Linked DNA regions of Homo sapiens: region 2 is linked to region 1. Evidence: promoter capture Hi-C in 16 types of primary human blood cells and fetal thymus (Javierre and others, 2016). All regions are on one chromosome and are shown on one strand. Each heading gives the region's core, a stretch centred on a gene start or on the middle of the fragment in contact. The rest is flanking DNA. Distances are from core to core; before and after follow the strand shown.

Region 1 (5,583 bases), core at 1,797-4,296:
TGGCTCACGCCTGTAATCCCAGCACTTTGGGAGGCCGAGGCGGGCGGATCACGAGGACTGGAGTTTAAGACCAGACTTCCTACCGTGGTGAAACCCCATCTCTACTAAAAATACAAAAATTTAGCCAGGCTGGTAGCGGGCACCTGTAATCCCAGCTACTCAGGAGCCTGAGGAAGGAGAATCACTTGAACCCAGGAGGTGGAGGTTGCAGTGAGCTGAGATCATGCCACTGCACTCGAGCCTGGGTGACAAGAGCGAAACTCTGTGTCAAAAACAAACAAACAAGCAAACAAAAAACAAAAAAAAACTTGAATTTGAATTATGTGTTCTTTTATATTACTTAGTGTTCCTCTCACTGAAGTTTCTTTAAAAAATCAAATTGAAGTCCTACCTACTTGGAATATATCATGTATGGTTCAGAAAATGGTGAGGGATTTTTTTTTTTTTCCAGGATGTACTTCAAGAGCCAATTTACAGTGTAATTCAGAAATTTTGTTTTACTCTAGGTTTCTGATTTAATCACTAAAGTGTCCTTATTTTCTGTCTATAGACTATGTTATTTTCCTTTTGGACCTTCAAATCCACAAAGGTTTAACTAGTATATGATAGGACCATAGAATTTTCACAGACTATGTAGATTATATAAGTTTCAGAGTTTAAATTATGCTATTGCTTATATTACTGATAAACAAAACATGGAATCATTTTGGGACCCAGTTTGTCAGTTAAATAAGGAGATTAAGGCAGAATTTTTTTGTCACCTCTATCAACCTCTTAGACTATTAATAATAATATAAAAGTGTTGCTTTAAATCATAGACTTTAAAGGCCAGGCATGGTGACTCACACTTGTAATCCTAGCACTTTGGGAGGCTGGGGCAGGAGAATGGCCTGGAGCCAGGAGTTTGAGACCAGCCTGGGCAACAAAGTGAGACCCCTGTCTCTATAAAAAAATTTTTAAAATTAGGCTGGGCACTGTGGCTTACACCTGTAATCTCAACACTTTGGGAGGCCAAGCTTGGCAGATCACTTGAGTCCAAGAGTTCAAGACCAGCCTGGCCAACATGGTGAAACTCCATCTCTACTGAAAAAAAAACAAAAAACAAACAAAAAAAAAAAGTAAAAGTAGCCAGGCATGGTGGTGCACACCTGTAGTCCCAGCTACTCAGGAGTCTGAGGCAGGAGAATTGCTTGAGCCCTGGAGGTGGAGGTTGCAGTGAGCTGAGGTTGTGCCACTGCACTCCAGTCTGGGTGACAGAGTGAGACTCTGTCTCAGAAAAAAAAAAAAAAAAAAAAATTAAGCAGGTGTGGTGGCATGCACCTACAATTCTAGCTACTTGGGAGTCGGAGGTGGGAGGACTGCCTGAGCAAGGCAATCAAGAGTTCAAGGCTGCAGTGAGCCATGATTGCACCACTGCACTTCAGCTTGGGCAGTAGAGTAAGACCCTATCTCAAAAAAGCCTTGAGAAAATACTGGTAAAGTGTTGAGAATTAATTGTCTTTTATTTTTCCAGGAGCCTAAAGGATGTAGTGGTGGTTAATCTGTGACATGAAATCATTAACATACCTTCTTAGGTCTCAACAGAATATGGAATGACTTGGGCATGGGTGCAAATTTGGATCAATATCTGTGACACACTAAAGATATTGCGTATTAGAATGGCTGATATCATACCAATGAACAGCTGAATCTCCACATGTCTTAATGATTCATCTTTTTAGGTGTGACATTTACATGGTCTTTAGGGAGAATATTAGGATCAGCTCAGTCCCTGAAAACTGGGTCTTTAGGGAAAGATCTAAATAATAGCTTACAAAGAATATTGACTTGGGAGCTCTCACACTTGGAAGGCAGCCTTATGTAGTTTATTATATCTAAATCATAGGTGGTATGAGATCTAATGAATTAATGAGGTCTGAGTCGGATCAAATTCGCCTTCCAGAGTTATGTTTATTTAACATGCTTTAACCCAGAAAATGAACATTTGCCAGCGAGCACCAAACAACTGTGCGCCGCAGTGCTTGAGCGAGTCAGGTCCTGAGGCCACTCTGGCGATCCTCCTTACAATTCATGTGAAATACCTACTGCAGGACAAAGCATCTGACGGTTTGGAGGATGTTTCTGTAGTCCTAGGAATCCACAGTGAATTCGAGTCTAGACTCAGTCATTTTTCAGGGTCAGGGGAGGAGGGAGAAGTAGCAAATCAGATATGCCCAAAACGTTACAGAGGTAACAGTGAATCCAGGATGCTGCTGTCAGCCTGTGCATTGTGAAGAAGGCAATCATAGGCGAGCAGCCGCGGGAGCAGGAACAGCAGCGTGCTAAGAAGCAGTCACATAAACAGCAGCAGGAGTAGGCCTCCTGCTTTTCAAAAGCAGAGTACTGCAGGGTCGCGAAATGCAAGACACTCAGATGTTTGAAAATCTCCCGAGTTGAGAATGGCTACTGTAAAAGCGTCACCAAGAAACTCTGACGATCTGGACAGTCCTAACTCTGTGTTAGCAATACTTACTTCCGGAAAATTAATGCTACTTCTTGTAGATTTTTGCAAATAGGAAACCCCCTTGAAGAAGATCTCAAATTACGCCCCCCACCCCCAAAAAAAGACAAACAGGGGAGAACAAAGTTTTGGCATGCCTGCAGGAACGGTGGCTTTTTTAGAAACTACCTAGGAGGCAGAAGCTAAGTGATTTGCTCATGCCTCTTACCTGGGAGTAGAAGGTGGGAAGAAATGGACCGAGGCTGTGACGAGAAGACAAGGCACAGTGCAGCTTGGTGAAGCCACACGCTGACTGCGTTCTGCCCCCTCTTCATGCAGTGCTGCGGGCTGGTGCATCGCCGGCGAGTACGGGTGTCCTATGTAAGTTTCTATTGCTGTAGAATTGCAGCTGGGAGCTGAAAATACTATTCGTGTCTGTCTGGTGCATGTTGCCTCTTTCAGCTGTTTTTATTCCCTGTGCTGAACCAACCAGACAGTCGATCATTTCGTACCATGAGTTTTCAAGGAATCTGAGGTATAGGAGATTCTGAGATATTTATTTTTTCCCAGAGATGTTTTTATCTGTCTTTTGTGCCTTGTGACTTTGATAAGGTTGGAAATAACTTGCGCGGGGATTGGTTTGAGAAGTCCATTGTCTCAGAGATCTGCCTCATTCAAACCAGTTGATACTCTCTTTTACCTAGAGTAGTCCTGTTTTCATATTTGAATGATGGGATGGTGGGGGGAAGAAATACCACGGAGTTTGACAAATTATAGATAGGCGCAGAGGCTAACACTAAATCCTATTTTGAGCAGCTTCAGAAAAATAGTAGATAATAATCACTGGATGGATGACACAGCTGTTGCAACAGCTTTATCATCCTGTGACTCTTTCACTGAAATAGCCCTTATTTCATGGCCCTGCTGTGTTTTGCAAAATGGCTGTCTGAGTATTAAATTCTACAAGGCAGGCTCACACAAATATTGAAGTGTATCACTACTTAACATGATTGGATGCTAATTGCAATATGCTGTGCCTTACACTAGCCGACCAGCTCCGAGCAAGCGCTGGCTTGATTTTCATACTCCTTTTGCGAGCAGCTACTCTATTTTCAGGAAGGGTTGTAAAAGGGAACAGGAGGTTTATGCAGGCTGGGCAAACTGCAGTGCTGAATTGCTTAACACTGGTTTGACATTCCTGACTGCAAAACAAATAGAAAATTGACAAAGCAAGCTAATCAATACTTAAAGTATTGAAGGTAAAGAAACCCGTGACCTTGGAAAATTGGCCACAGAAAAGAGATATATGTGAGACTTACAGGACAAACAAGGTCAAAATCTGATATGATCTCAATAATAAAGTTGGAAATGGTGACGGGGTGGGGTGGGAGGGCAGGGAGAGATAACTATACTGTCAAACCTTAAAGAGAGTATTCAATTTTATTAAATAAGTAAAAGCATGAAAAACCCCTTTTATTTAAAGGTTTTTGCAGTTGTTACATATTTGGTGCCATTTGTCTTTTGAATGCAACAGTTGACATATCAGAAATCAATGGAGGAGTCAGGTAGCCAGCCAAGATTTCTAAAGACGACATCTGCAGGGATAGATGGTTTTTATCCAGTCAAAAAATTAATTGCTTTTTAAATAAGATTTGGGAATAAGTGTTACAAACTTTTTAGAGTATAAGATTAGCCGCCTAAAGAAAACCTTAAGTTAAAAACAAAAATAATTTTAATTTAAAAATCCATAGTTTCTAGAATAGTGAAGAGTGAGAATTTCTTAGCTTTCTGTGTTTCTGTTTATTCTTGTATAATGAATTAGAAGAAATCCATGGTTATGTGTGCCTATTGAATACAAAAATTCTGAAATAAGGCCTCCAACAAAGCAACAAATTTTTACCCTACTTATTTTAGTTCTTCTTCTTACATTGAACATGTAAATAAATAGAAAGAAGAGACAACATAATCTGGATTTTTGAAGTCTTGATTGAAAGCTACAGAGACTTGGTTCATCTGCTCATTCTCAAATATTTTTACCCTGTATTTTGAATAAAGTACCACAAAATATAGAGCACAGATGTCTTTTAAAGATAAAAGAAATGCATACCCTTGGTCACTAGAAATAAATTTTCGTTTACTTTAGAGTGTTTTTCTCTTGGGAAGCCTTACCTCTAACCCACCTGCTGCTGTTTTAACCTCTCTTCTTTGACACTTTATGGATTGCAGTTTTCTTTACAGATGGCCAACCCAGAGTGGAAGATAGGTTAAATCGAAACCTATTTTTTTCCTTGAAGGAAAAGAACCCACTGTGCATCTATCTGTAACGGAGACTTTAGATTTGACCGCAAAGCAGATGAGTCTAGAGGCTGCTCATTGAATACAAAGGGCAGCCAGACCCCTATGTGGTACTGGTGGTTAGGACCTCGTCATACTGGTTGGGCTGTCCTGGTGTCCTTTCTCAAATCTGTTGTCAGTTTCCAGGAATCACAATTCTGGTAATACTGGAACTAAATGTCAATATTTATATACATACATGTATGCATATATCTGTTAGATCTAATTACATAAATAATATATTTTAGATGTAATATAAATCAATTGATAAATATGCACCTGTGTGTGCATGTGTCTTAATCTTTCACTAGTTCTTATACCTTTTCTTTTTAGTATGACAGCTTTCTTAAGAATTCCTCCTACTCAAACATTGTCTCTCAGAAAGAATATGAAAGTTATGTGGGTTTCAAAGAAAGTTATACTCATATGCCATAGTTCTTTATTTCTAGGTTTTTACCTTTCTAAGCTGTTGCTTTTATTAGGTTGCCTCCGCTCACTTGTTTAACGTTACATTCAGATTCAAAACTTCTCTGAGCAGTGGGCTCACAGAAGTAGGCTGCAGACTGTAGTCCTGTCTTGCTCTTTAAGACTCAATGCATAAGCTTTATTCTTGACATTATTATTGATGTTCAATATCTAGTCTTCATTCTTTTGTTTACTCCTAACCATCATTCTTTTAGAACTCAGCTTCGCAGCTCAGAAGTAATTCCTGTGTTTACCTAAACTGTCTTGCTATTTCGTTAAGGACATGAAAATCTGTGAGCTGAATA
Region 2 (5,613 bases), core at 2,985-5,484, 660 kb before region 1:
CTGCCTCTCAGGTTCAAACGATTCTCCTGCCTCAGCCTCCTGAGTAGCTGAGATTACAGGCATGCGCCACCATGCCCAGTTAATTTCTGTATTTTAGTAGAGACAGGGTTTTGCCATGTTGGCCAGCCTGGTCTCGAACTCCTGACCTCAGGTGATCCACCTGCCTCGGCCTCCCAAAGTGCTGGGATTATAGGCATGAGCCACGGAGCCCTGCCTCACTATTAGCAGCACTGAAATGGAGTAAAGCCTTACCAATTCACTTCAACTGCTGAAAGATGATGAGAAATTAGTGAAGAGGCTGACTTATTCAAAATCCTTTAAGAAAAGAGGCTTTATTATTTGCAAGTACATAGAGCAACACAAATAAGACTCAAAACTACTCCTAGATGATTTTTCCAAGTATATGCTTAATGAATAGATAGAAATGATCTGAAATTTTCTTGGACACAGTGTTTATACTCAGACATATAATTCTAAATGCTTGTAAAAAGTGCACTAATGCTTTAAACATGATTTGTTTTTATCTTTCTTTAAAAAAATCATACTAAGCTGATGTTTAAATGATTTTGAGAAAGCAATAATCCATGCGTTAATTTACCTGCCTTTATTCTCATAGCTAATGAACTGTCTTCTGCCTCTATCTCCCTTCACTTTTCCCAAATTATCAGTAAATATGGAGTTAAACCGAAGTTTTAATGTATTTGTAAGCAATTATTTCTAATTATTTCCCCTTGCATATTATTATATCCTTTCAAAAATTTCCACATCATATGTCAAATCAAAGTACTAATAAGTATATACTTACAAGGTATATATGATGCCATGGTTATAAGAAGAAAATAATAGTAGTCAAAAGAGACATTGTATTTGTTAGGAAGTCTTATTGAAAACATTCCTGTTTTCTTCACATGCGGCAAGGCAGCGTATATTGTAAGAAGTTCACCAGCAACTCCAACAGGATATAAGATGATAAAAAAATTATATCTGGAGAAAGAAAAACCTCAGAGAATTATTTTTCTACAATAATTATTAGACTTTACATTGCAGGTCTATTGCTACTACTAAATTTAAACTTCAAAATTCTCTTTTCTTTACATATTTACAATAACCTTACGTAAGGTTAATAGTTCTACTTTAATCATTTGCTTATTGATTATCATCCTTTTTTTCCTAATACCAGTTTCCATAATAGGCAATGTCTTTTTAATAAAATAGTATCAACTTATTTTAGAGTACCAAAATACTTTTATGTATTAAAAAATGTATATGTAGTTTTTCTTGTTTTTGTTTTGAGATGGAGTTCGCTCTTGTCACCAGGCTGGAGTGCAGCGGCACAGTCTTGGCTCACTGCAACCTCCACCTCCTGGGTTCAAGTAATTCTCCTGCCTCAGCCTCCCAAGTAGCTGGGATTACAGGTGTGTGCCACCATACCCAGCTAATTTTTGGTGTTTTTTTTTTTTGTTTTTTGTTTTTTTTTGAGATGGAGTCTTACTCTGTCGCCTAGACTGGAGTGCAGTGGCACAATCTTGGGTCACTGCAACCTCCACCTCCCGGGTTCAAGCAATTCTCCTGCCTCAGCCTCCTGGGTAGCTGGGACTACAGGCGCCCGCCACCACGCCCGGTTAATTTTTGTATTTTTAGTAGAGACAGGGTTTCACCATGTTGGTCAGGCTGGTCTTGAACTCCTGCCTTCAGGTGATCCACCCGCCTCAGCCTCCCAAAGTGCTGGGATTACAGACATGAGCCACCATGCCCGGCCTATGTAGCTTTAAAAAAAGTATTGTAATGGTAACTTCTTTGGTGCATAAAATCACAAATGACTGCTTTTGTCCGCGGCAGCTAGTAATTTATTGATCAAACACTGCGTTTAAAAAGACCAGTGATTATCCTAAATTTTATATCTAAACCTTGAAATTACCAAGGTAGTTATTTTTAAGAGGCATTTGAAAAAGTCTTTGTGGTTACTAATGAAAACCAATTATTGCAGAAAACTGATAATACCACCTGAAGCATGAGTAGCTACTAATGAGTATATTATATTGTCTAAAACTGCTACCGTAACAAAATAAATTGACAAGTTAGTTCCTGAATTCCCACATTAAAAGAAGAGTGAGCTTGTTTAAAGTAGAGTTAAGAAAGTTCTACTCTAAATCCAAAGTCATCATGTGTTCATTTGGTCTGTGGCAAGGTCTGGAACACACAGTAGGCCAGGCATCCTGTATGCTTCCAATTAGGAAACACTCTGTGTTCTACTGGCTGGTCTCCAATAAGAGGGGCCTAAAGGATCCAAGATGATCATATTTCTTCATTAAAAAAAAAAATCATTTTTCTCTGACTCAGTCACTATATAACAGTTACCACAGAAAACTTAAGAGGCCAGAGTGCAAGACCACTCTGGGCGATATAGTAAGACCCCGTCTCACAAAAAAAAATTTAATGAGCAGACCACAGTGGTGCATGCCTGTCGCCCCAGCTACTTGGGAGGCTAAGGCAGGAGGATTGCTTGAGCCTAGGAGGTCAAGGGGGCAGTGAGCCAAGACCGCACCACTGTACTCCAGCCTGGGTGACACAGCGAGACCCTGTCTCAAAAAAAATAAATTTAATTTAAAAAAAGAAAAATGTTTTTAATTTAAAACAAAAGGTCAACATTTTGATGGAAAAAGAAATCAAATTAATCTGTATTTTATTTAATCATTTTGTTGGCATTAGGAAATATCTATAAAGAAAAGTCAAAGTTGTCAGTATTGAAGAAGCTTGGAGACAAATTAAAAATTGCATTATTCCTGTATGTCAAGGATATGCGAAGATAAGAGATGGGGAGAAGGGCAGAATTATTTGCCAAAATAGATGAGCTATTCAAGAAAGAAGAATGATTCCTTCACTGTACCTGTTAATCCCTTCTTGGCCTTGGAGAAACTCCCTGCTTTCTTACCAGTTTTGGGTAGTTATTTGTGTATCATTTAAATCAATCTTTCCCTATTCCTCAATTTATTAAATCCCATAACTGGACATTTTATATACCTGTCTCAGTAAAATACCCAAACTGATTAAGTTGCAATTTTTACTTTATGTGGTTTTCAAAAGATTTTTTTTTTTTTTGGCAGGATTGTTCTTCAATAGAAGAAAAAATTAACACTCCTACAATAAGCTAGTTGAAAGTCTTAAGGGCAATGAAAATTTCTAATGAAATGGGAACAAATTATATAATTTGACTTTACTTGCACTTCAAAAAGATTGCATGTTACTACTTCTCTAAGTTCTGAGGGCAGTATGGGAGATTTAACTATGGATAGACCACATTAAAAAAAAAGATACAATGCTTCTTTGAAGGTTCCCAATTACTATCTAAAATTTTTTTGAAGGGAGTGCATTTTAAATCAATATGAAAAACCTAACTTAATATATACAATTACCTATTCTGAGGACTTTTCCAAGAACACTTATGACACATAAATAGAATCAAAGTATATTCAAACTGTAACAATAGGCCAAACTACTTATAACTAAGAAGCCATTTCTAAAGTGTAGTTTTATTCGAGAATGACAGCTTCAACATCTGAACATAAATACAAATATTATTTTACCTTACTTAATGGAGTTGGGAAACATATTTAGATGGCTGGGATTTTTAAGATCTTTTTGACATGAAACATAATTATTTATGATTATGATCAACTGACAAAGTATTATGTAACATATGATTTCAAAGCTGAAAGACTGTATAACTTGTTTAACATTAAGGCAATGGATAAACACTTTCTTCTTTTGAGACAGAGTCACGCTGTGTCACCAAGCTGGAGTGCAGTGGTGTGATCTCAGATCACTGCAACCTCCACCTCCTAGTTCAAGCAATTCTCCTGCCTCGGCCTCCCAAGTAGCTGGGATTACAGGCACATGTGGCTAATTTTTTAATTTTTTAGTAGAGATGGGGTTTCACCATGTTGGCCAGGCTGATCTGGAACTCCTGACCTCAAGTGATCCGCCCACCTTGGCCTCCCAAAGTGTTGGGATTACAGGCATGAGCCACCACGCCCAGCCTGCAATGGATAAACACTTTCTAAACAGCAAATTTAAACATACGATGGCAGAGTTTTTATCTTTTCCAGACACTCAAGACATGCAAATGCATTCCAAAAGACAGACACACAAAGCCATCAAGTCTAATGTGCCAACCTCAGGAAAATATGCAATGTACATTCTGCTATCCTCTTCAGACAAATTTTGTAAATTCAGCACATGAAAAGAGACTATATGGTAAGTTAGTATTTTCAAAGGTGCCAGAGGTCCAGAACATTGTCATGCGAAATGATATTGATGTGTTCTAGGATTAGAGTCCAGCTACATTCAAAACTGCCAACCTTTAAAAAGCTCAGTCACTAAAGGTAAACACATTTTCATGTACAGTAAGATTAAAACCAACCAAATCCATATAAATGGTAGTACAACCTTCTTATGACAGACAAGACACTTAAGCTCAAATTATAATTTCAAAGTATCTCATCATATACAAAGTGGTAAGCCGCAAGTGTCTAAAAAAGAGCTAGAGAATATTAAAAAGTCACAAAGAGTATATAACATGGCCAGGCGCAGTGGCTCACACCTGTAATCCTAGCACTTAGGGAGGCCGAGGTGGGTGGATCACTTGAGCTCAGGTGTTCGAGACCAGCCTGGGCAACATGGTAAAACCCCATCTCTACAAAAAATACAAAAATTAGCCAGGTGTGGTGGCCTGCACCTGTACTCCCAGCTACTTGGGAGGCTGAGGCAGGAGAATCGCTTGAGCCCAGGTGGTGGATATTGAAGTGAGCCGAGATCGTGCCACTATCCTCCAGCCTGGGTGACAGAATGAGACCCTGTCTCAAAAAAAAAAAAAAAAAAAAGAGAAAAAAACCCATAAAACACAATTAACAGTGGTTATCCTTGGTTAGAGAGATTATAAGTAATTTAAAAGTGGTTTTCCTTCTTTTTGGTTTATATATTCTCATTTATTATATTTGAACATGTATAATACTTGGGATTAAAAAATAGTAATTGACCAGGCATGGTGGCTCACACCTATAATCCCAGCATTTATCACCACCTGACATATCACATATTATTAGTTTATGTTTTGTCTTCATCATAAGACAGAGAATTTGTTTTGTTCATACCTACATCTCAGGCATGCAGTAGGCACACACCATTTGTCATTGTTATTGCTACCATAAAGTACAATACAAAGAATAAAATGAACAAGTCTATACTGATTTGTGACTTGTTCTCCAAAGAGCAGTTTTGCTTTTATAATAACTTTCTAAAACGTCAATTGCTCAAAGAATTCAAACTTCAAGAAGAACAGATATCTTTTCCTTTAAAAACTGTTGCTTTAGGATATATTTGGAGCCCTTCAAATATAAATTTTATCCACATTCCAAATAATACAATTTTAAGTAAGTGTGACTTTTAAAAATGTCTCTGCAACTTAAAGCAAAGAAAAAAACCAATCGCATTGTGTAAATGGTATAAATTGTGGCTGCTAGATTGACTATTAAAATAATTTACATCACAGACAAAAAAAAAACATATTTTTGGTACTGCTTATGTAAGCTAATTCCAAAAATGTATATTGTGCTT

What was found. The method cuts DNA at HindIII sites, captures the fragments that hold promoters and counts their contacts. A CHiCAGO score of 5 or more calls a contact.
Region 2: a fragment that was not itself captured here is called in contact with the fragment with the promoter of CACNB2-AS2 in region 1 in 1 of 17 cell types (M1 macrophages); the score reaches 5.0 in M1 macrophages.

The regions. Positions count from the first base shown.
Region 1 is chr10:18,258,458-18,264,040 of GRCh38, forward strand. It overlaps CACNB2-AS2 (CACNB2 antisense RNA 2), which reads right to left and starts at 3,047. Exons shown (of 2, transcript XR_001747681.2): 1 at 2,709-3,047. All of the region lies in intron 2 of CACNB2 (calcium voltage-gated channel auxiliary subunit beta 2), which reads left to right. The HindIII fragment of the contact is 4,399 bases long and covers 1,015-5,413 here.
Region 2 is chr10:17,593,400-17,599,012 of GRCh38, forward strand. HACD1 (3-hydroxyacyl-CoA dehydratase 1) reads right to left here. Exons shown (of 7, transcript NM_014241.4): 6 at 806-984. Among named protein-coding and RNA genes, the nearest start is that of HACD1, 21 kb to the right of the region's middle. The HindIII fragment of the contact is 2,967 bases long and covers 2,752-5,613 here.